7 separate regions of the Homo sapiens genome follow, and regions 1, 2, 3, 5, 6 and 7 are each linked to region 4. The links are contacts of gene promoters, found by promoter capture Hi-C in blood cells and fetal thymus (Javierre and others, 2016). All regions are on one chromosome and are shown on one strand. The core of a region is centred on a gene start or on the middle of the fragment in contact, and the rest is flanking DNA. Distances in the headings are between cores, read along the strand shown.

Region 1 (3,123 bases), core at 89-2,588, 330 kb after region 4:
AATTCCCCATGAACAATGTAGAGGACGTATTGTCTAGTTAACTTGGTTAAATAAGGACTCAATGAATGGGGAAAAATGTATTTGGAAATTCTTTCCTAAAACTGAAATACCGTGGTCATCCATTCATTAAATAGTCACTGAATTCCTACCATGTCCTGGGAGTGTGCAGTGGTGAACAAGCCAGACATGTGGTCTTTGCTCACATGAAGCCTATGGGGAGACAGGAGATCCAAAAATAAATATACCATTACACGTTGTAATTAATTGAAAATATTTGTGTATACTAGGAGGCAGAGAAAGCCCAGTGTGCTGCCTTACTGTAATTTCCAGTCTCTCCAGAAATAAGAAAGGCACTGCTCCACTGCCTTTTAATTGCAGCTTTTCTATGTTTTTGCATTAGGAGTAATTATGTGCCCTTGACATTTTTGTGCTCAGAGTGCAGCAATCTGCCTAACAAGCATGGCTTGCTTCTCCCTGGACATAACTACTGAGTAATTGGCAGGCAGGCCGGACTGACCTGCGCCACACACAGAGCCAGAGCCCGCTGCCAATGCTTCAGGCCCAAGGGCTGTGCTCCTGGGTGCATAGCACAGAAAAGACTGCCAGGCTGTGTCAATCTTTTTAATCATGCTTACGCATATAGGTTAACCACAGTTATGTAAGCAGGTTCTGAGAAAAGGTGAGAAAGAGAATGGAGAGTTTTGCTACAACAGAGGCAGGATTCTGAATTTATTTCCAGCTGCCCATCTTGTCCCTCCTGGAGACCTAACCCCTCCAGCACCTACACACACAGCCTCTTTAGAAGCAACTATCCTGCCACTGGCTCAGAAAGGCTGAGTCCTAAGAATTCTAAAATCTTGCTCCTAAGAAATCTCAAGCTTCTTTTGTGGTAAGTGGCTTAATGAGACAGGGTAAGTGATAAACAAGAAGAATCATTGTATCATTTTATGTTTTTATCATGTTGTCATTGCACTGGCTAAGTTCATCTTTGATGGTAAAATACTAACGCAAATTGAAGCTGTGATAAAAGGGCTTTCAATATGAAATAGACAAGACATATAATGGAAAGAAATGCTTCCAGAATGGATTTCCATAAAAACGTGGCAAGACTTTCTCAGTGCCATTCTTTAAAATCTCTGCTATTTTTCAACAAATGCCAGATGTTAAAGCATTTGCATAGTATCCCTTGGAGGGTTGGGTGTAAAGACATGCATTAATATCAGGTTAATAGAAAATATCTACAATAACAAAATGTCCACACACAGATGCTCAATAAATGCCATAGCACTTGTTATGACTAATTATTATGAAGTACACGGACCCCTTTTCATATCAAATAATTTACTAGACCCTCACTTATAGATCTTGTACTCCTACTTGGTTGAGAATGTATCAAAATAACTAAAAATGTCACTGTGAATTTCATTAAATCTTGTATAAAGATCGAAATGTAGGCCTCCAGCTGTGAAATTTAGAATCTCATCTTTTACTAGCCTTGACCAGCTGTGAGTGAAATGCCAGATCAAAGTTTATTTTTCATAAATATTTAAGTAATGTCACAATTAGCAATGCTATTCTAGATAATTATTTAATTTCACTACATATTATAAACTGAAAATCTATGAAAAAAATTATATACTAATTTAATTGTCTTGGGAAATATAATAGAAATGGACCATAGTTTGACATTAGATGTTTTGGTATTAGGTTTGTGCAAAAATAATTGCTTTTAATGGCAAAACTGCAATTACTTTTGCACCACCCTAATGGTTCATATGACATCACCAACAATCATCCAGAAAGCTTCATATTAATCTTAAATGAATTGTTGCCATTAACAAAGCTTTCTTCTCTGAGATTCAGCTGGAGAAGTTCATTTTGGAAAACATTTAAAACTGTTATGCACATGAATCTCTGAAAAGATATGAAGCTCTGGCAAAAAAATAAATGAAGGCTAAAAACAGAGGGAAACAATTTCCCAGTGCAAAAGATTTTCTATTATTTTCATTATTATTCCTTAGATGTTTTGGCTGAAGATACAAAAAGAAAAACAAATAGATATGTTTTCCTCAAAAACCATCACTTTATTTTTGTGCCACGGTTTTTGTTTAAAATAAGATGACAGAGAAGAAAATTATAGAGATAAAATCAATTGTAGTAACCAAAAAAAAAAAAAAAAATCAGTTTTAGTAACCAAAGGAAATCAGTCTGTATTTCCAAAACCTTTGTGTGAGAGCCCATCAGTGTGGTTGGCAGATGTTTTACAAACACTTAGGGAATCTGTCATGAACTTTAAAGACCAAGAGAGCTTTTTCTGTTTGCCAGGAAATCTAGGAAAACAAAGGAAAATTAAACCCATTAGCCTAGTTTAACATCATGTGCTTCCCCCACTCGCCCCTCCCCTCATAGCCAGGGCTTACACAAACACACTGAATGGTACTTACGTTCCTTAGGTATTACCAGTTGGCCCCGTTTCAAGGCTTTAAAAAAGCCTCATCACTATGCACCCAACGTTAACACTCAAAGCCCCGCAGGGCTGTATCTTGGACGGCTGTTGCTACTGAGTGTGATTCTCAGCAGATGAAATGCTAGCAGCAGCAGCAGCAGCATCTATGAACTGCCTTATAATAAACTGCAACTTGGCTGCACTTAGTCATCACCAGGGCCACGCGCTGATGCGTGAACTCCACCCTCAGAGACTCTGATTTCATTGGTCTGGGAGTGGCCTGGACATCAGGATCTTTTCCTTTTTTTTAAAAAAAAATAATAATAATTATAATCCACAAGATTTTCCTAATGGTTACATCTCACACCATGAAATTGACTTTGGTAAAATGTGTGTATAGTTCTCTGTCACTTTATCACGTGTGTAGGTTTGTCTAATCAGCATTGCAATTATGATACAGAACTATTCCTTCATCACAAAGATATGCCTTTATGGTATCACTTACCTGCCTTCTCTCTACTATCCCTAACTCCTGACAAACACTAATCCCGATAATTTTGTCATTTCAAGACTGTTAAATAAATGGAATCGGCCAGGCGTGGTAGCTCATGTATGTAATTCTAGCACTTTGGGAGGCCGAGACGGGTGGATCACTTGAGGTCAGGAGTTTGAGACCA
Region 2 (3,502 bases), core at 299-2,798, 410 kb after region 4:
CACTCCCTGAATACCCGCTGCTGCCTCGAGCTTTTATTCACCTTGCCCTCTCAGTGTGGAACACCCCTACCCCCTTTATCTTTCTCTTATGCTTAATCAAGTGCAACCCAGGCCTTCCTCCTTTGTACAGCATTCCCTCCTCATATCAATCCTGGTTCTTTTTTTTTTTAAGAGGCAAGGTCTCACTCTGTCATCCAGGCTGGAGATCATAGCTCACTTCAGCCTTGAGGTCCCAGGTTCAAGTGATCCTCTTGCCTCAGCCTCCTGAGTAGCTGGGACTACAGGCATGTACCACCACACCTGGCTAATTTTTTAAAAATTTTTTGTAGAGATAGGGGTCTCACTATGCTGCCCAGGCAGGTCTTGAACTCCTGGGCTCAAGCAATCCTTCCGCCTTGTCCTCCCAAAGTGTGGGGATTACAGGTGTGAGCCACCATGCCCAGCCAATCTGGCCTTTGTTGTGCTATTACTTATACCCTGTACATCACCATTTACTGCAGGTATCACATAGCAATACTCATATTTATTTACATGTCTGCCTAAAGTATTAGGCTACATACCCCTTGAGGGCAGGGACTGTGCAATCTACCTGCTGTTTTACCTCTTCCCCACATATGTTGAGCATTTCCTATGTGCCCACATGCTGTGAGATGATAGGTGCTGGTAGTCTTGAGATGAATGAGATGCACTTCATGCCCTGGGAGAACTCATGGTTTGGCAGTAGGAACAAATAAGTAAGTAAATAAATTCTAATTCAGCAGGATACTTCAGCCATAGACATATAAGTTAGTTATAGAGGTTGAATAGGGAACAAGTGTTTCTGAATCTTTGGGAAGATCAAGGATCCCTTATCCCTGAGGAGGTTTATAAAGCATGAAGGTCCGTTTCCTTCTCTGTGTCCTTAGAACCTGGTAGGACGTTTTTGCCTAGAACATGGTGGGTGGATACTAAAATCCATTCATGCCTAGTGTTCCATTATTGGAACGCTAAGCATGTGGGAGTTATTTATATCCTACGGTTCAAGGTCATTGCCAAGATCTGATTGCAAAAATTCACAAATTTGCAACCTCAGGCATAATTAAAGGGAGGAAATGGAGGAAAGGTAATGCCATTCAGGAAGATATTGGGATTGGAGAAGTGAGCCTATTAGAAGTCTGTTGGTGACACATGAAAAAATGCTCATCATCACCGGCCATCAGAGAAATGCAGATCAAAATCACAATGAGATACCATCTCACATAAGTTAGAATGGTGATCGTTAAAAAGTCAGGAAACAACAGGTGCTGGAGAGGATGTGGAGAAATAGGAACACTTTTACACTGTTGGTGGGACGGTAAACTAGTTCAACCATTGTGGAAGACAGTGTGGCGACTCCTCAGGGATCTAGAACTAGAAATACCATTTGACCTAGCCATCTCATTACTGGGTATATACCCAGAGGATTATAAATCATGCTGCTATAAAGACACATGCACATGTATGTTTATTGCGGCACTATTCACAATAGCAAAGACTTGGAACCAACCCAAATATCCATCAATGATAGACTGGATAAAGAAAATGTGGCACATATACACCATGGAATACTATGCAGCCATAAAAAAGGATGAGTTCATGTCCTTTGTAGGGACATGGATGAAGCTGGAAACCATCATTCTGAGCAAACTATTGTAAGGACAGAAAACTAAACACGCATGTTCTCACTTATAGGTTAGAATTGAACAATGAGAACACTTGGACACAGGGTGGGGAACATCACACACCGGGGCCTGTCGTGGGGTGGGGGGAGTGGGGAGGGTTGGCATTAAGAGAAATACCTAATGTAAATGACAAGTTAATGGGTGCAGCACACCAACATGGCACATGTATACATACGTAACAAACCTGCACATTGTGCACATGTACGCTAGAACTTAAAGTATAATTAAAAAAAAAAAAGTCTGTTGGTGAAGGTTGAAGATAACGAGGCAGTGGGCTGACTGGTGAAAACTAAATCATCTTTTGTCCTTCAAAGTCTTGGGCCAGGAACAGTGGCTCACACCTGTGCACGGTGGCTCCTAGCACTTTGGGAGGCCGAAGTGGGTGGATTGCTTGAGTCTAGGAGTTTGAGACCAGCCTGGGCAACATGGCAAAACCCATCTCTACTAAAAATACAAAAAATCAGCCAGGCTTGGTGGCGTGTGCCTGTAGTCCCAGCTACTCAGGAGGCTGAGGTGGAAGAATCACCTGAGCTTGGGAGGTCGGGGCTGCAGTAAGGTGAGATAGTGCCACTGCACTGCAGCCTGAGCAATCCAAGTGAGACCTTGTCTCAAAAAAAAAAAAAAAAAAACAAAAAAAAAACCTCTATTATTTGAGACACAAGAAAGGCAAGCCTGAATTGCCATGGGTTAACCAGCCTCCTTCCGGGACAGTTGGACAGACAGGCTTTAATAGATGCTTGCACCAGATACAGTCCCCCTGAAAAATTACAAAATTTATCCAAGATCAATTTCATGTAACTTGATATTCCCATTTTGCAAGCAGCTCTTGCCCTTTCCCAGGGAAGACTTCTGTCCCCGTATGGGGCAGGGTTTCCTCTCGCCCCCTCCATCTCTCAGCTAGTTGTTGCCTGGTCCTCATAAGGTGGGACAGATTGTCTGTTGCCCAGGCTGGAGTGCAGTGGCACAATCTTGGGTCACTACAACCTCCACCTCCTGGTTTCATGCTATTCTCCTGCCTCAGCCTCCTGAGTAGCTGGAACTACAGGCACCTGCCACCAAGCCCGGCTAATTTTTTTGTATTTTTTAGTAGAGACAGGGTTTCACCATGTTGGCCAGGCTGGTTTTGAACTCCTGACCTCAAGTGATCTGCCTGCCTCAGCCTCCAAAAGTGCTGGGATTACAGGCATGAGCCACCGCGCCCGGCCTGCTCTGTGGTTTTTCTGCTGTCTCCACCTCCCTCCACAGACACAGCGATAACGACAGCTGAATGATTCATACTTGACCTTTCAGAGCAGCCAGATGAAAGGCTGTGCAGGGTGTATGGCTCTTAAATAGCGTGTTCTCTGCTTGTTGGGAAGACATGCACTCAGCTGCTGTGTCCTCTCATGGAGCTGCTGGAGCGGCCCCTGTAGGAGCCACAGTGCAGAGCGTCCTGTTCTCGGTGCTGCATTCTCCCCCAGCCTCTGCCTCCTCCTGCTTGGCCTGGCTGTGGCTGGAATTTTTGCTTTACAGAGTGTGGGATGGAGAGTAGGGCAAGTCCCGAGAACCTGTTTCAGTGCCAAGTTGGACGCAGAATGTAGTAAAAGCAACATGGCCTCTCTCGACATGAGCATTAAGTTTGTTTTGACATACATCAGTTTATCATCTTTGACTCAGTCAAAAACGTTGGGTTCTGTTTCCTTGGCTCAAATTAAGGACCTTACAGCTTGTTACCATAGACTTTAACATGTGCCTTCAGACATTGGCACCCATCTTAGGCACAAAATTAAAGACGGATTGAATTCATTGTATTCTTATTCTAG
Region 3 (3,489 bases), core at 615-3,114, 490 kb after region 4:
AGATACAGAGTGTGGACACAAAGGTTCTCCAAGGCCCCACCAGAGTAGCTAGATACAGAGTGTCGATTGGTGCATTCACAAACCCTGAGCTAGACACAGGGTGCTGATTGGTGCGTTTACAAACCTTGAGCTAGATACAGAGTGCCGATTGGTGTATTTACAATCCCTGAGCTAGACATAAAGGTTCTCTACGGCCCCACCAGAGTATCTAGATACAGAGTGTTGATTGGTGCATTCACAGACCCTGAGCTAGACACAGGGTGCTGATTGGTGTTTACAAACCTTGAGCTAGATAGAGAGTGCCGATTGGTGTACTTACAATCCCTGGGCTAGACATAAAGGTTCTCCACGTCCCCACCAGACTCAGGAGTCCAGCTGGCTTCACCCAGTGGATCCTGCACTGGGGACTGCAGGTGGAGCTGCCTGCCAGTCCTGGTGCCGTGCGCCTGCACTCCTCAGCCCTTGGGTGGTCGATGGGACTGGGTGCTGTGGAGCAGGGGGCGGTGCTCATCGGGGAGGCTCGGGCCGCACAGGAGTCCACGGAGTGGGTGGGAGGCTCAGGCATGGCGGGCTGCAGGTCCCGAGCCCTGCCCCGCAGGAAGGCAGCTAAGGCCCGGCGAGAAATCAAGCACAGCGCCGGTGGGCTGGCACTGCTGGGGGACCCAGTACACCCTATGCAGCCACTGGCCTGGGTGCTAAGCCCCTCATTGCCCGGGGCTGGCAGGGCCGGCCCGCTGCTCGGAATGCGGGGCCCGCCAAGCCCATGCCCACTCGGAACTCCAGCTGGCCCGCAAGCGCGGCGCGCAGCCCCGGTTCCCGCTGGCGCCTCTCCCTCCACACCTGCCTGCAAGCTGAGGGAGCCGGCTCTGGCCTTGGCCAGCCCAGAAAGGGGCTCCCACAGTGCAGCGGTGGGCTGAAGGGCTCAAGTGCCGCCAAAGTGGGAGCCCAGGCAGAGGAGGCGCCAAGAGCGAGCAAGGGCTCTGAGGACTGCAGCACGCTGTCACTTCTCAATGGGGTGAGGGAGACAGAAATAGACCCGGAAGAGAAGAGGGAAGGACAAAGCCAAAGAGATGCCAAACTGCATTTGGTGTTGCTCACTGTGGCCCAGAGAAGTTTGATGGCAGTGCTGGAGAACCAAGAGGAGAAGCAAGGCAAAGGGGCATGGCGTGGGAGAGATTACCTAGGATAGGCTGAATGGCTGTTCTCCCTCAAACTGGCCATGCCCTCTTTTGCTTTCCACCTCCTACAGTCCAAATTACTAGCCACTTTCACACGTTTTCCTTATTTCTAAAGCTTAACCAAAATTACCTAAAAGCCACTGTACCCCATACATATTTCAGTCACTGTGCTGACTACATTGTCATATAATCAATCATCTGCCTGTATCCTTAATCAGAATGAGATCTTTAGGAAGTCTTATTCCTCTTTGATAGATGGTGCAACTAATGTTTGTTGAATGAAGAAAGAATGGATGGAAGGGCAAGGAGGAAGAGGGGAGAAACTAAACCACCTACTTTATAGTCTCTGGTATTCTCATTCCAATCAGTTCAATACAGACTAGTTGGAATCTTTTGTTTTAAATTCTTAAAAGATTACGTACCATACATATTCCTGACTTTAAGCACTCTCTTTGAGCTTCCCACCTCCCACCTCCAGTTTTTTTGTTTTTTTGTTTTTTGTTTTTTTTTTTTTTTGAGACGGAGTCTCACTCTGGCCCCAGGCTGGAGTGCAGTAGTGAGATCTCAGCTCACTGCAAGCTCCGCCTCCCGGGTTCACGCCATTCTCCTGCCTCAGCCTCCCGAATAGCTGGGACTACAGGCGCCCGCCACCACGCCCGGCTAATTTTTTGTATTTTTAGTAGAGACAGGGTTTCACCGTGTTAGCCAGGATGGCCCACCTCCAATTCTTATACAGCCTCTCGTATCTCTTGTTAGGCCCTGCTGCTTATACACTTGTGGTCTTTGATACCTTTCAGATTTCCCATTCCATGCCAGAATATGTCCTTTTCCTTATGCTTCTTGGGCAGTTATGTACTTCAGTACCCTGAATCTCCATGAGTTGTGCCTATTTAAAAAAATACCATATGCTTGGAATTTATCTCTTTATCTTACTGGTTTCATGGAAAATCAGGATTCTGCAATGAATTTTAAAGTTAGCCAATTTGAGTCATTTTATTATACTTAAAAAGGAACTTTTTTACAAGAAGGAATGCCTTTAGTTATGTTCCTAATTCTCAGTGTGTATAGTTTTGTCAGCTTAAGTAGAACCAGATCACCAAAGTCATAGTGGGTTAATCTTCATAAGGTTGAAAGATCAACCTTTAGCAAACCTAGTTTGCAACTTGAAGAAATTCTGTCTTATACAACCGACATAATCTCAAGGTTACAAGTCAGCGACTGTTGTAAGTATTTAAAGCTAACCTTAAAACATTAGAGAAAAGCTTTTTACCCTTCTTAATAAACAGATAATGACATGAACTCAATATAGATTTACATTATATGTGTATAGTAACTAGTAAGTATATATTTGCCAGCATTCTTTCATGTATTCCAAACAAAGCCAAATGGTTGATCTAGTGTTGGCTTTTTTTTTTTTTTTTTTTAAAGACAGAGTCTAGCTTTGTTGCCCAAGCTGGAGTGCAGTGGCACAATCTCAGCTCACTGCAACCTCTACCTCCCGGGCTCAAGCAATTCTCCTGCCTCAGCTTCCTGAGTACCTGGGATTACAGGCATGTGCCACTGTGTCTGGCTTATTTTTGTATTTTTAGTAGAGACAGAATTTCACTATGTTGGCTGGGCTGGTCTCGAACTCCTGGCCTCAAGTGATCTGCCTGCCTCAGCCTCCCAAAGTGCTGGGATTATACGCATGAGCCATCGTGCCTGACCTAGTGTTTGCATTTGCAAAAACACTATAAAAGTTTAAGGCATCTGGTCTCAGTTTTTAATTATGAAAAAGTCCATAAGTATATAACACACACATATAAAGAAAAAACATCCTGTATTTTACCACCCAGTTTAGGAAATAGCCAATTTAATTTTAATCAAAGCTGAATTAAAGATATTTGAGATTTATATTTTTAATTTGATATCACATTTTCAAAACTTTTCTGTATCACTTTTTAAATGGGTACTGATTCACTCCTTCCCCATTTATATGTGATTTAGAGTTTATTCAGTGCTTTCAGATGCATTATTTCACTTAGTGTCCACAGAAACTCCATGAAGTCAGAGTTATAATCCCCATTTTGCAAGTGAGGAGGCCTGAAGCTTGGAACAGTTGACTTGGTCATGCAGCTATTAAATCTCAGAACCAGGACTAGAACCTAGGTTTTCTCATTAACTTTTTTACTATGAGAAAGTTGCAGGGAAGAAAACAATATCATACATTCCCTGGTAAATTGTTAAGGATTCATAATTATAAATGCTTTACCTTTCCAGAATGGTGGTTATAAGGGATGTTTTTGTTTAGCAGGGGACTTCCAGAGACAAA
Region 4 (3,393 bases), core at 280-2,779:
GCCTTCCCTACTGAATTATGCCGATTTAAAACTTTTAAAGTCGGCCGGGCGTAGTGGCTCACGCCTTTAACCCCAGCACTTTGGGAGGCCAAGGAGGGTGGATCACCTGAGGTCAGGAGTTCGAGACCAGCCTCGCCAACATGGCAGAACCCCGTCTCTACTAAAAATACGAAAAAATTAGCTGGGCATGGTGGCGCACGCCTGTAATCCCAGCTACTCTGGAGGGTAAGGAAGGAGAAATAGCTTGAACCCGGGAGGCGGAAGTTGCAGTGAGCTGAGATCACACCATTGCACTCCAGCCTGGGCAACAAGAGCAAAACTCCGTCTCAGGAAAAAAAACTTTAAAGTCATTCACATTCGTCTGCTTCGTTCCATTCTCACCACCTATGCACTGGTCCAGTACCATTTCTTAAAAAGATGACAACATCTTCCAGCTCCAACCCTCTTCTCCAAACCTAGCCAGAGATCTTTGCAACATGCACATCTCGCCATGTCACTCCTCTGCTTACATGAGCTATTGTCGGCAACGGGATTACAGTGGCTTAGGAGTCAGACACACTTGGGTTTCAGTCTTAACACCATAACTTATTGGCTGCAAAACCGTGGGTGAGTTAATTTCTCTATATCTTAGTTTTCTCATTTGAAAAAAAAAAAAAAAAGAGCCACGAAGAGCACCTCCCACAGGTCTCCCCCAGGGTTGAGACCATACACACCATGTCCTTGGTTCAGAGTCAGGCACATTTGAACTGTTTAATACATTTTAACTGCTATTTTTATTAAACCCTTTCAATCGAGGCAAATCAACCTCTTTCATCCTAAAATGTGGGGATTAGATGGAATGACTTTAATCAACTCTTTTGAGACAAGACACCTTTGGACCCTGAAGCCTCCCTGGGTGCTGGCCACCCCTCCGGGGAGGAGGCATCCGTGGGTGCAGCTGGTACTCCTGCATGAGGACCCAGAGGGTCAGGGTCGGGGACTCCTTCTGCTGCAGGACAGCGCTGACCCCAGGCTTCTTACCCGCCCCCGACCTGTTACCCGGCGACAGTCCCCGCCGCCCCGTCGCCGGGCACAGACTCAGCCGATCCACAGCCATGAGTGCGAAGCCTCTCAGGCAGGGCAGGCAGGCAAACCGCAAACCCACAGGGCGCACCCAGCCCCGCCGCTTCCTCCCGGGCCTCGCCCGCAGCTGGAGGAGAGAGGAAGGAGGAGGCGGCGGGCAGCGGGCAGCGCCCACCCCATCCCACCCCATCCCACCCCACCCGACCCCGCGGGCCCGGCCGCCCGAGCCCGGCCCCAGCCCTGACCCCGGAGTCCCGGTCGCTCACCTTGAAGGACATCCTGCACATGTCCGCGGCCGCCCGAGCGGGAGCCGGCGCGCTTTGGGCCCGGGGCGCCTTGTCCTCCCCGGCCCTTCACTCTCCCGGGGCTCTCGGCGTTCCGCAGAGGGGCGGCCTCCGACGCCGCGCGCTCCCGCCGCCCGGCCCGGCAGCAGCCGCCGCACACAGGGCCGGGCCGAAGGGGCGGCGCGGGGGCGCGCGCGCGCGCACACTACACATGGGGTGTCGCGTGGACGCGCTCCAGGACCTGCCACACACGCGCGTGCACAAACACCCCAAACTCCGCACGCACTGTGCACTTTCCACACACGTCCACACTTCCACACTCACTCGTCCACACACACACTCCAAACTCCACACACATTGTGCATACGCTCCACATTCCACACACACAGAGGTTCCACACACATACTTTCCACACTCACGCCCACTCACCCGCATGTACTCACACACAAACTCCATACATATCCTCCCAAATAGACTGGTCTGCCCCAGAGGACTCCCAACCTTCATTACAGCACAAATATTATAATGATGTAAAAATGAAGCTTGAGGAAAAAATTCATCCAATAGCTATTTTCGTTATAATTTCTTTCTCGGTTTCCTGGGAAACTTTTTTCTCCTGGGGAAAATATCTAGGAAACAAACCTTTTGATTGCACAAACAATAAGTGGTCTTTTCCTCTTTGAAGGGCAAAGGCCAATTTTGGAATAGACTCATACCCCTCCTCCTCCTCCGCGTTATTAATCCAGCAGTTCCCTCCTCCTCTGGGTCTGATGCTGCAGCCCTGGAGTATTGCAGTATGTGTGTCCACTCCTGCTGCCTGCCCAGGATTGGTTTGGGCGAAGTAAAACTGGGAGTTTTAAGTATAAACGGCAACAACAGCTCTTTGAGAGCATTTTAGAAAAGTGAAAGTAAAAAAGTAGCCCAGGCATAGTGGCTCACGCCTATAATCCCAACTCTTTGGGAGGCCAAAGGCGGGCAGATCACTTGAGTCCAGGAGTTCGAGATCAGACTGGCCAACATGGCAAAACTCTATCTCTACTAAAAATACAAAAATTAGCCAGGCGTGGTGGTGCGCACCTGTAGTCCCAGCTACTCGGGAGGCTGAGGTGGGAGGATCGCTTGAACCTGGGAGGTTGAGGCTGCAGTGAGCCAAGATTCGGTCACTGCACTCCAGCCTGGGCAACAGAGCAAGACTCTGCCTCAAAAATAAAAATAAAAACAAAACAAAAAAATAGTATAAAAATGGAGGTCTTACCCCCTCAAACTATAAGAATCCACTCATTCATTCTCCCCCTCCTTCCCTCTTCTCAATTAAATTTGTAACGAATATTTAATTTAAAAGGTAGAAAACAATTACAAATAAAAGTTAATGATAAAAATTAAAATGTTTAACCTTCATGGATAAATTGTATTACTTTGTGCTTAAAACAACTTTAAATTAAAAACATTCTGAACTTTTATAGAAAATTCCAATTTTAAAAATAAGGACTCTAAACATTTTCCTTGCCTTGAGTGCCTATAAATGACACAGTTTTTAAGTTGCCACACAACGTTATTATATAAAAATCAAGCATCAGAGGTTTTGCTTTAATAGTTTTTTGTTTGTTTGTTTGTTTTTTCTTCTCAGATGGAGTTTCGCTCTTTTGCCCAGGCTGAAGTGAAGTGGCATGATCCTGGCTCACTGCAACCTCCACCCCCCGGGTTCAAGCAATTCTCCTGCCTCAGCCTCTCGAGTAGCTGGTATTATAGGCTCCTGTCACCGTGCCCAGCTAATTTTTGTATTTTTAGTAGAGACAGGGTTTCGCCATGTTGGCCAGGCTGGTCTCGAACTACTGACCTCAGGTGATCCACCTGGTTCGGCCTCCCAAGGTGCTAGGATTACAAACGTGAGCCACCGCGCCTGGTCTGCTTTAATAGTTTTGATAAATAAAAGGGAGAAAGGAAAGAACTAATATTTTGAGTGTTTTCTAGGTACAAGGTGCTTTCCTTATAAACATTTTATGGGGTGAGTATTAACCCATTCCACGGATGAAAAAACTAAGATTCT
Region 5 (3,403 bases), core at 721-3,220, 440 kb after region 4:
GGGTCCTGGGAATTTAACCATGTCAGTGCAGTCTTTTTTACATAATTAACTGAAGAAAAATTGGTGCCCTTTAAAATTAGGAAACAAGAAGTCAAAGGGAGCCAAATCAGGACTGTAAGGTGAATGCCTAATGATTCCCAAGGAAATTCTCACAAAATTGGCCTTTTTCGATGAGAGGAATGGACAGGAGCATTGTCACAGTGGAGGACTCTCTGGTGAAGCTGTCCGGGGTGTTTTGCTGCTAAACCTTTGGCTAACTTTCTTAAAACAATCTCATAAGTAGCAGATGTTATCATTCTTTGTCCCCACGCCCAGAAAATCAACAAGCAAAATGCCTTGAGCATCCCAAAAAAACTGTTGCCATCACCTTTGCTCTTGCTGTCTTTGCTGTGACTAGGCCACTCCCACCTCTTTGTAGCCATTGCTTAGATTGTGCTTTGTCTTCAGGATTGTAGTGGTAAATCCACATTTCATCTCCTATTACAGTTCCTTGAAGAAACACTTCAGGATCTTGATCCCACTTATTTACAATTTCCATTGAAAGCTGTGCCCATGTCTGCAGCTGATCTGGGTGCAGTGGTTTTGGCACCCATCAAGTGAAACTTTGCTCATCTTTTTTGGTCAGAATGGTGTAAGCTGAACCAATTGAGATGTCTATGGTGTTGGCTATTATTTATAGTCCTCTTCAATTAGGGCATGAACAAGATTAATATTTTCTTTGCAAATCTGTGTAGATGGTCTGCCACCATGGGCTTCATCTTCAACATCGTCTTGGCCCTTCGTAAACTTATACATTTGCAAACTGCTGATTTCTTTGGGGAATTATTCCTATAAACTTTTTGTAAAGTGTCAGTGATTTCACCATTCTTTCACCCAAGCTTCACCATAGGTTTTATGTTTGTTCTTGCTTCCATTTAAATGCAGAATTTATGTTGCTCTGATAGGGGCTCTTTTCAAGTTGATGTCTTATGCTTCTTAGTGCCTCAAACTAGATCCTGCTCAGACATGTTATAGCAAGTTAGTATGGGCTTATTTTGGTGTAAAAAAATTTGAAATTCATGCATAGTTTTATTATAATGCACATTTTCTATGACCATTTTGAAGACCCTGCCTATGTCTTAAATAAAACAAGAATATCATGATTGCCTTTTAAATATATATTATATTATTTTTTATCCACTTGTTCTCTCACATATATACATAACTATCAGTTTCTCAGGTTCTCTGTTAATGGGAAATTTAAATTGATACTATGTTTATAATATTTCTTATCAGTCACTGAGGATATGTCTTCATTTAGTCATGTCACCTTTTATTTCTCCCATTTTGACTATAAAATTTTTGCATATGTCTGTCCTGTCGTATATAGCAAGCAGGGGTCCAGATGAGATAAGTACTTTGTGAAAGTGTACATAGTTATTTTAGGATTAAGGAAGACCTAGAATTCAGGCTTTCTTTCTTTCCTTTCTTTTCCTTCCCTCCCTCCCTCCCTCCCTCCCTCCCTCCCTCCTTCCTTCCTTCCTCCTTTCCTTTCTTTCCTTTCTCCTTTCCTTTCCTTTCTTTTCTCCTCTCCCTTCCCTCTCCTCTCCTATCCTCTCCTCTCCCCTCCCCTCCCGTCCCCTCCCCTCCCCTCCCCTCCCCTCTCCTCTCCTCTCCTCTCCCTTTCTTGCTTTCTTTTCCTCTCTCCCTCCCTTTCTTTCTTCTTTTCTCTTCTCTTCTGTTTGTCTCTTTTTCATCTCTTTTTAGATGGAGTCTCGCTCTATCACCCAGGCTGGAGTGCAGTGGTGCGTTCTTGGTTCATTGCAACCTCTGCCTCCCGGTTCAAGCAATTCTCCTGCCTCAGCCTCCTGAGTAGCTGGGAGTACAGGTGCCCAACACCACACCTGGCTAATTTTTGTATTCTTAGTAGAGACGGGGTTTTGCCATGTTGGCCAGGCTGGTATCGAACTCCTGACCTCAAGTGATCCTCCTGCCTTGGCCTCCCAAAGTGCTGGGATTACAGGCATGAGTCACTGCGCCCAGCCCAGGCTTTCTTTTTTTAATCGAGTGTTTTTTCTAGTATATCCCACTGCTTTTATTTGCTAATAAGTTAGAGGAATGTGTGTGTGTGTGTGTGTGTGTGTGTGTGTATATATATATCTATACACGTATATACATATAACATATATACATATATATAACATATATACATATATATATATAAAACGTGTGTGTGTGTGTGTGTGTGTGTGTGTGTATGTGTGTGTCTTAGTTTGGGCTGCTATAAAAGAATACTATAGATTGGGTGACTAAAACAACACACTTTTATTTCTCACAGTTCTGGAGGCATGAGATCCAGGTGCCAGAAGATTGGGTGTCTAGTGAGGACCATGTCCTGGTTCATAGATGATGGCTTCTCACTGTGTCCTCAGATGGTGGAAAGGGGGCTAGAGAGCACTCAGGGGTCTCTTTTATGAGGGCACAAATTGCATTCATGAGGGCTCCACCCTCATGATCTGATTACCTCACAAAACTCCCACCTCCTAATACAGTTCCAGTGAGGGTTAGGATTTCATGTATCAATTTTGTGAGGCAGGAGCATTCCATAACAATGTTATATATAATATATAACTGATATATGTAACTTAGCAATTAATATATATATGTATGTATTTAAATGTGAATATAAATATTTCTGGGACTTGTGTTTACTAGGCTTTAGGAATAGACCTGATTTGTTTTTAATGATTTGGCTAAAAGCGTATCTTTTTTATATGCTTTCTTATATCTCCATATTTTGGAGAAACAGATCACTTAAAGTAATTAAACTGCCATTAAACATTGGAAGGAGTTCTTATGTAACTTACTGCTGTGAAATTCCCTTTTGAAATCAGTTTTTTAATAACTTCCCTTATTTCTTCTGTAATGTTAATATATATTTACTTATATCCATTTTAGTTTTATATTATAGTTTTCCATTTCTAGTTATTACTTTCCAAACATATAACTTAATACTAGTTTCAGATCTGTAAAAATGTGATATTATTTTATTAGACTAATTTGTGTTTTCTTAATTTTATGATTAAGCTTTTGGATTATCATATTGGTTTTGAGAGAGAGAGATTGATTTTTTTAATCAACTCATTTTAAAATTTCCATCGTTTCTAGTTTCCCTTAACTTAGCTTGTTTTACAGTTTTTCTTAATAGTTTATCATAACACATTTGTTGTATTAGAATAGTTGGATATTTGTGTTCTGGGATTAGGGATTTGATCACATTCAGGGTGTTTAGGGAGCCTGAAGGTTTTATTAAATGTTCATTGTGATGTGTCTTAATTATCTGATTATGATTATGATTCATCTTACATCCTTTAATAACCTGTGTGGAAGGCCTACTCTGAGTCTGTGGCCCTTGTCCTCCGCC
Region 6 (3,077 bases), core at 539-3,038, 290 kb after region 4:
CTGAGATGGATGTAACGCACCATCACTGAAGCTTCATATGGCAAGCTAACCAAAGTCAGTGGGATGGAGGACTCACTTCTAGTTTTATCTACAAAATAATGAATGATGTACTGAACCAATATTATTACCCAGCACCACTTTCCCTAACAGAGAAGGCTACACAAGCATTTCCATATCCTCTACATAGTATTTGTTCATCAGAAGAAAAATAACAAATAATTCTAAAAAATTGGATATAGTAATCCTATGTGGTACCCTTATAGCTACACACCCTGCACCTTTGAAACTGAGTCACATCCCCTTCAACCCAATGTTCTCTTCTGACTTCCACACTGCAGTCTTGTGGACATGCTTTCTAACCACATCTATACAGAAATTGAATGTTCTCCTGGAGAGGTAGCGAGGTCCCCATCATAGGAGTATTCAACAGAGGCTGGGTGGTGGTCCTTAGGGATGCCATGTTGGGTTGGAGGTTAAACTACATGACTCTAAGCTATGTGCTTTCTTGAAATATTGATTTTAAAATGAAAAATTCACCAGGTGATGACCAGCCAGGAACTGAGTCTGCAAGAGGATCATCCATTTTAACACCTGCCTTTGGCAGGTCTACACTAAGCCGGTGGTTCTCTCTTCTGGGTCCCCAGTGTTAACCTCACTGAATCTAAGGAGTTATTCACTGGTGCCGATTATTTGTTAGCACTTCCTAGATTCATTAGAAAGGGGTAATGACCAGGTGTGGTGGCTCACACCTGTAATCCCAGCACTTTGGGAGGCCAAGGCAGGAGAATTGCTTGAGGCCAGGAGTTTGAGACCAGCCTGGGCAACATAGCAAGACCCTGTCTCTACAAAACAATAAAAAAAAATTAGCTGGGCTTGGTGGCACATGCCTGTAGTCCCAGATACTCTGGAGGTCGAGGTGGGAGGATCACTTGAGCCCAGGAGGTTGAGGCTGCAGTGAACTAGGATCACCCCACTGTACTCCAGCCTGTGTCTAAAAAAGCAAAAGAAAAACAAAAAGAAAGGGCTAGTTTATTCCTCACTGACTAATACCGATGGTTTTCCCCCATTTCGTAAAAGCTTGAAGAACAGCCACCTATCTGCCCTTGCTGAATACAGTTCCAGCCACCAGAAAGCAGCAGAGAGAGTCACAGATGAAATTACAGCTGAGGAAAAAGAACACCCTCAGTGTGGCTATTTGCAGATTGTAAATATGTGTTTCCTGAAAAGAATGTCTAGAGCTCCTTGACTGAACTTTCATGAGAATTGTTTGTGAACTATCAAATGCTATACAAATATTGTCACTGGTATGCTCTTCCTGGCTCATAGGCACACACAAATTGGGCCGACCTTGTGAGGAGAGTCTCGGGAGGGACAGCAGGATCTCTGGTAGACAACACTGACCAGTTCACGATGGGTCCACCATTGTTCCATCTTCGTTCAGTGGATTGGGGACTGGAAACAGTGCATCTCCCTGGGCAGCAGGCACTTCAGGGGCACCAAGTAACTGTAAAGCAATCGTGGGTCTGCACGGGCCTGCCTTCTTCAGCATCCCTCCAGGTGCTGGCTGACCTCACTCCTTAATACGTACAGTTATTGAGTTTTTGCCGTGCTCATAATATCCCTGTACCAGAGGACAGCAGCCCCGGACAGAACTCACTGACCTTCCCTTCTCCCAGGCAGGATGTGGTCCCACTTCCCCACAGAGAACTTGAACTCAGCTCCTTTCTCTACTCTCCCCAACCCCCAAAACTGCTGCACTGAAAACCCCTCACACCTCAGCGTCTGCCAGCCACTCTAACTCTTCTCTTCCGGTTCCCCAGTTCTCTTTTTACTAATTCCAACTTGGGCAGGTCAGTGGTAGCCCCCGAAAGGTCTTATTCTTCCTTTGGAATGAGGACTTACAGTCAGCATATGGGTAGAAAAAAATTTAAAATAACCTTTTTTTATTGAATATCAGTGGTATGTGTGTTCGTTATGGAAAAATTGGAATATGCAGAGAGGCATTAAAATCACCTAGAATCTCACCACTCCGAAATCTGTTTGTATATAGTTATATGTTCATTAGTCTTTTAATTCACATGTATTTTTTTACAAAAATCATGATGATACCATATATATTGTTTTTATATGGTTTTGCAAAGTCTATTGTGTTTCCTAGGTCTTTAACTGTAGAGCATTTTATTCTATCAGATGAATTTACCGTAATGTATTTAACCACCCTCCAATTATTCAGTAAATGGGGTTTTTTCTCTTTTCTTTTTTTTTCTTTTTGCAATTACAAGCAACACTAAAATGAAGATATCATGGGATATAAATTTATTTATTTTCTTAAGGTAAATTCTTAGAACTAACACTATCAGGTCAAAGGATATAAACATTTTAACGATTGTTATTAGCTATTACCAAATTGTTCCCCCAAAAGTTTATATCTGTATCTGTTTACACTCAGAATCATTTTAAGTTTGCCTTAATCCCTAATGCCACTGAATATGAACCCACCAAAGCTTGCCGATGGTCTTCAAGATGGGCAGCAGACATTTACATTCATGCAAGCCAGCTTGTAGAGGTCCACCCTGATCCAGGCTGATCTGAGCCAAAATCCCATCACCTGGAACAGGTGGTCAGCTGGTGGGTGTTTAGCTCTGAGGGGCGATCCTGCAAAACACCTTAGGAGAGGGGGCAGCCTGATGCTGAGCCCTGCAGAACTGGAGCTGGGCCACGGACGCAGCCAGGTTTTCAGAATGCATCACACTCGAGAACACCAAACCGGTGCCAAGCCTGGGCCGTGCTCCCAGAAAGGGTTGGAATAATGTGCTGAACTCTCTTCGCAGCACTGGGCCTCAGTGATCGGTCCAGCCAGCCGGCTTCACCCTCCTCCACCTTGGAAGTTTGCTTTCATTGTGAGTGAAACTTTCATAAGAATTCTCTCAGGCAGGATTACCAGGATTTCACTTGGGAAAAACTCGAGACCCCATCCCTCCCACCACCCTGCCCAACAGAGAAATCCGAAGCAGAAACTTCTTGTTGTATATAACTACATACAAACTTTTTTTTTTTAAACGTGGATGATATAATAG
Region 7 (3,453 bases), core at 581-3,080, 460 kb after region 4:
TGAGGAAGACCTCAAGCTAGGGACAGCAGAAATATATTCTTTTTCATTGATTTACTCTGTGACCTTAGGCAATGCTCAGCTTTTCCAGACCTTTGCATCCTCTGATCTAAAAATAATGGGGTTGGTTGCACAATACAGCCACTGAGCTTCATTCTGGTTTGGAAATGTTACAGCTGCAATTGATAAGGTCATTTTGGATTGGTGCACACTCCTCCATCTGGACCAGAGATGCCCCAGTGACTGGGAAAGGAGTTGTCCCTTCCTTTGAATATTCAGCCTCATCACTCTTAATCCCAGTAGGAGGAACCTGCCGTCTTTCCCATTGTCTTTGCATCCTCAGCTCTCTCCGAGCCTCAATTCTTGGACCCTTGGGCTCTGCCGATGGTAGCCTATCCTGGTACGTGCACGCCTGGGATAGGTGACTGCTTGACCATGCCCAAATGCGAGTACGGGACCAACCTACTTTTAGGGGTGCTCAGGTAACGAAGGGGGAACTAGCCAGGCACAGTGGCTCACACCTGTAATCCCAGCACTTTGGGAGGCTGAGGCAGGCATATCACGAGTACAAGAGGCCAATATGGTGAAACCCCATCTCTATTAAAAACACAAAAATTAGCTGGGCATGGTGGCATGTGCCTGTAGTCCCAGCTACTCAGGAGGCTGAGGCAGGAGAATTGCTTGAACCCAGGAGGCGGAGGTTGCAGTGAGCCGAGATCACGCCACTGCACTCCTGCCTGGTGACAGAGCAAGACTCCATCTCAAAAAAAAAAAAAAAAAAAAGAAGAGGGAACTAGCAAGTCAACTTTAGTGCATTCCAACTGGGGAGTGAAAAACCACATGTGATCTAACAAAATTGAATAGAAATGGATTCCGCAGCATCAGAGTTGGGAGGAAAGGATGGAGTTGTGGTAAAGTTTCAAGCAGTAGTGGGGCTGCAGCCAGTGCAAAGTTTGCATAAGGGACAGAGAAGACACAGCAAAGGGAGGATCATTAAATCTTTGGGGCCTGAGGTGAGAAGAAGGTGTGCACATGATCATGATCAAAATCTCACTCATTCCTCAAGACTCCGCTCGACTTCTCCTAGCTCCTTACAGCGTCTGGTCACTCCAGAGAGAAATGATCCCTTCTCTTTCTGAGCCTTCTGAAAACCACTTTGGTTCTCCTACCCTGACTACTCCTATCACTACATACATTGCAGCTTGTGGGACCCTATGTGCGTGTGTGAGCATGTGTGATCTTTTCAATTGTAATTTCAGTTTCTTTAGGATTCAAGCACATGTGTTTCTTCTTCACATTGTTGCTGGTGGCTTATAGGTAGTAGGCAGCCAAGGAACTTGGACAGGACAGATTGATGACTTCCTAGGACAGAGAACTCCTCCTTCTACCACGAAGCTTTCATGATCCTCGGGGCTCTTCATTGTTCTTTCCTGGGTTCCTATTTATTCCACTTTGAGTATGTGAGCCCTAACTAGGTTGTACACTGTGACAGTAGCTAAGGATTTTGTTATGTGAAAAACTGTCTCCCCAACAAGAGGACAAGGACCATGGCTTTCCCCAGGTCCCCCAAAAGCTCTGGGAACACAGGAACCTGGGAAATAGTTGAAGGACTGCAGGACGGTGCAGTCCTTTGTGGAACAGTCTTTTTTTTGTTTGTTTGTTTGTTTGTTTGTTTGTTTGTTTTTCTGAGACAGAGTCTCATTCTGTCGCCCAGGCTGGAGTGCAGTGGTGCGATCTCGGCTCATTGCAACCTCTGCCTCCTAAGTTCAAGCGATTCTCCTGCCTTAGCCTCGCAAGTAGCTGGGATTACAGGCATGTGCCACCACGCCTGGCTTATTTTTGTGTTTTTAGCAGAGATGGGGTTTCGCCATGTTGGCCAGGCTGGTCTCGAATTCCTGACCTCAGGTGATCCACTCGCCTCTGCCTTCCAAAGTGCTGGGATTACTGACATGAACCACCATGTCCAGCCCATTGTGGAATAGTCTTTAAACATATTTGCTCCTGCTTTTTTTTTTTTCAAGTATCATCACTTCAGGTATCCCTTATGGCATTTTCCCTGACTTGTACTTAAGAAATATAATTATGGTTTCTTACAGTTTGTCAGGGAGCCACTGGTGATGTGGATGGGGCACAGATTGTCTTTAAAGAAGTTCAGAAACTCTTCAAAAGGAAAAACAATCAGATTGAACAGTTCTCGGTGAAAAAGGTATGTTGGAGCCTATTGATCTGGTGTATTACTTATGATGGGCATTTGTAACCAACACTGCCTTGGCAAGCTTTAGGAAATTATATTCAAGGCTGCCTATTTACTTGCCACATAAAGTGCAGTTCACCGCCATGCAGAGGATTCTCTCCATGATTGTACATCTGCTCTGAATAGAAGATTCTTGCCTTGCTGCAAATAATGAAAGCAGATTTTTAAAAAATCGATGAGTCCTGCAGATACAGGGCCTCAAAAAATTGGGTTAAGACTCAGAGTGGTTCCCCTTCATGGAAATCTTTAGCAAAAGGTGAAAGATATATATGATCTGAAGGGTAACTGGAGTATAGTTTTTTTTTAAATTTTAATGAATGGAGACTATACGTTCTGCAGAGCTAATGAACACACCTCTAGAGAGAAAGGATCTGTCTAAAGAATTGGGTGGTTTTGGAAGAATACAAATTGGCAGGACCTAGTGAGAAATGCAGGCTGTCTGGGGTTGAGAATAGAGAACACATCACATTTTGATGTAATAAAAAGCAAATGTGTGTGTCACAGTGTCACAGTTGCCAGCAGAAAGGCCCAAGACTGTAGAGACAGTATTCCTATGTATTCTGTACTTCTGTGAATACAATGTTGCCGTATTACCTTGAGTTATGTAGTGTCTTATATCCTGAATTATCAGTTATTTTAGTTTTATATGTTTTTATTGAATGAACATTTAATGAAGCTTTTGAGTATAAATTTGATTATAATGTACAGCAGAGAGCACTGGCACTCAGTAGAAAATTTTAAAATCAAGAGAACTGTGACTAAAAGGCATCTAGTCTTAGTTCCTTAGGTGTGTGTAAGCCCGTTGAATTATTAGCTGTCACCAAGCTTTATAAATTCTGTCACTCTAAATGCATGTAAATCTAGTTTCATCCCCAAGTTTTCAGAATATACACTGCGTCTTTTTTTGTTTTTGTTTTTGAGACGGAGTTTTGCTCTCATTGCTCAGGCTGGAGTGCAATGGCGTAATCTTGGCTCACCGCAACCTCCGCCTCCCAGGTTCAAGCAATTCTTCTGCCTCAGCCTCCCGAGTAGCTGGGATTACAGGCATGTGCCACCATACCCGGCTAATTTTGTATTTTTAGTAGAGACGGGGTTTCTCCATGCTGGTCAGGCTGGTCTCAAACTCCTGACCTCAGGTGATCTGCCTGCCTTGGCCTCCCAAAGTGCTGGGATTACAGGCGTGAGCCACCATGCCTGGCCCC

What was found. Contacts are between HindIII fragments. The CHiCAGO score rates a contact against its expected background, and 5 or more counts as called.
Region 1: a contact is called between a fragment that was not itself captured here and the fragment with the promoter of ANKRD29 in region 4, in 1 of 17 cell types (M1 macrophages). The highest score is 7.3, in M1 macrophages.
Region 2: a contact is called between a fragment that was not itself captured here and the fragment with the promoter of ANKRD29 in region 4, in 1 of 17 cell types (total CD8 T cells). The highest score is 5.1, in total CD8 T cells.
Region 3: a fragment that was not itself captured here is called in contact with the fragment with the promoter of ANKRD29 in region 4 in 4 of 17 cell types (total CD4 T cells, total B cells, activated CD4 T cells and 1 more); the score reaches 5.7 in total CD4 T cells.
Region 5: a fragment that was not itself captured here is called in contact with the fragment with the promoter of ANKRD29 in region 4 in 7 of 17 cell types (naive B cells, M2 macrophages, naive CD4 T cells and 4 more); the score reaches 6.8 in naive B cells.
Region 6: a contact is called between a fragment that was not itself captured here and the fragment with the promoter of ANKRD29 in region 4, in 1 of 17 cell types (M1 macrophages). The highest score is 5.1, in M1 macrophages.
Region 7: a fragment that was not itself captured here is called in contact with the fragment with the promoter of ANKRD29 in region 4 in 8 of 17 cell types (total CD8 T cells, naive CD4 T cells, M0 macrophages and 5 more); the score reaches 7.9 in total CD8 T cells.

Annotation. Positions count from the first base shown.
Region 1 is chr18:23,992,150-23,995,272 of GRCh38, forward strand. It overlaps TTC39C-AS1 (TTC39C antisense RNA 1), which reads right to left. Exons shown (of 6, transcript NR_110796.1): 6 at 2,064-2,330. It also overlaps a transcript of TTC39C not described here. Among named protein-coding and RNA genes, the nearest start is that of LINC02958, 11 kb to the left of the region's middle. RefSeq lists a silencer at 2,356-2,415. The HindIII fragment of the contact is 925 bases long and covers 877-1,801 here.
Region 2 is chr18:24,073,375-24,076,876 of GRCh38, forward strand. The region is part of intron 4 of TTC39C (tetratricopeptide repeat domain 39C); the gene reads left to right. Among named protein-coding and RNA genes, the nearest start is that of TTC39C-AS1, 60 kb to the left of the region's middle. RefSeq lists an enhancer at 2,871-3,165. The HindIII fragment of the contact is 4,610 bases long and covers 1-3,502 here.
Region 3 is chr18:24,149,105-24,152,593 of GRCh38, forward strand. The region is part of intron 3 of CABYR (calcium binding tyrosine phosphorylation regulated); the gene reads left to right. Among named protein-coding and RNA genes, the nearest start is that of CABYR, 12 kb to the left of the region's middle. The HindIII fragment of the contact is 1,147 bases long and covers 1,292-2,438 here.
Region 4 is chr18:23,661,382-23,664,774 of GRCh38, forward strand. It overlaps ANKRD29 (ankyrin repeat domain 29), which reads right to left and starts at 1,530. Exons shown (of 10, transcript NM_173505.4): 1 at 1,329-1,530. The coding sequence starts at 1,349. The HindIII fragment of the contact is 8,557 bases long and covers 1-1,886 here.
Region 5 is chr18:24,096,908-24,100,310 of GRCh38, forward strand. The region is part of intron 6 of TTC39C (tetratricopeptide repeat domain 39C); the gene reads left to right. Among named protein-coding and RNA genes, the nearest start is that of CABYR, 40 kb to the right of the region's middle. The HindIII fragment of the contact is 2,188 bases long and covers 877-3,064 here.
Region 6 is chr18:23,955,453-23,958,529 of GRCh38, forward strand. It overlaps LINC02958 (long intergenic non-protein coding RNA 2958), which reads right to left. Exons shown (of 2, transcript NR_199650.1): 2 at 2,302-3,077. Among named protein-coding and RNA genes, the nearest start is that of LINC02958, 26 kb to the right of the region's middle. The HindIII fragment of the contact is 1,427 bases long and covers 1,076-2,502 here.
Region 7 is chr18:24,121,741-24,125,193 of GRCh38, forward strand. It overlaps TTC39C (tetratricopeptide repeat domain 39C), which reads left to right. Exons shown (of 14, transcript NM_001135993.2): 9 at 2,094-2,203. It also overlaps the pseudogene RNU5A-6P. Among named protein-coding and RNA genes, the nearest start is that of CABYR, 16 kb to the right of the region's middle. The HindIII fragment of the contact is 881 bases long and covers 1,391-2,271 here.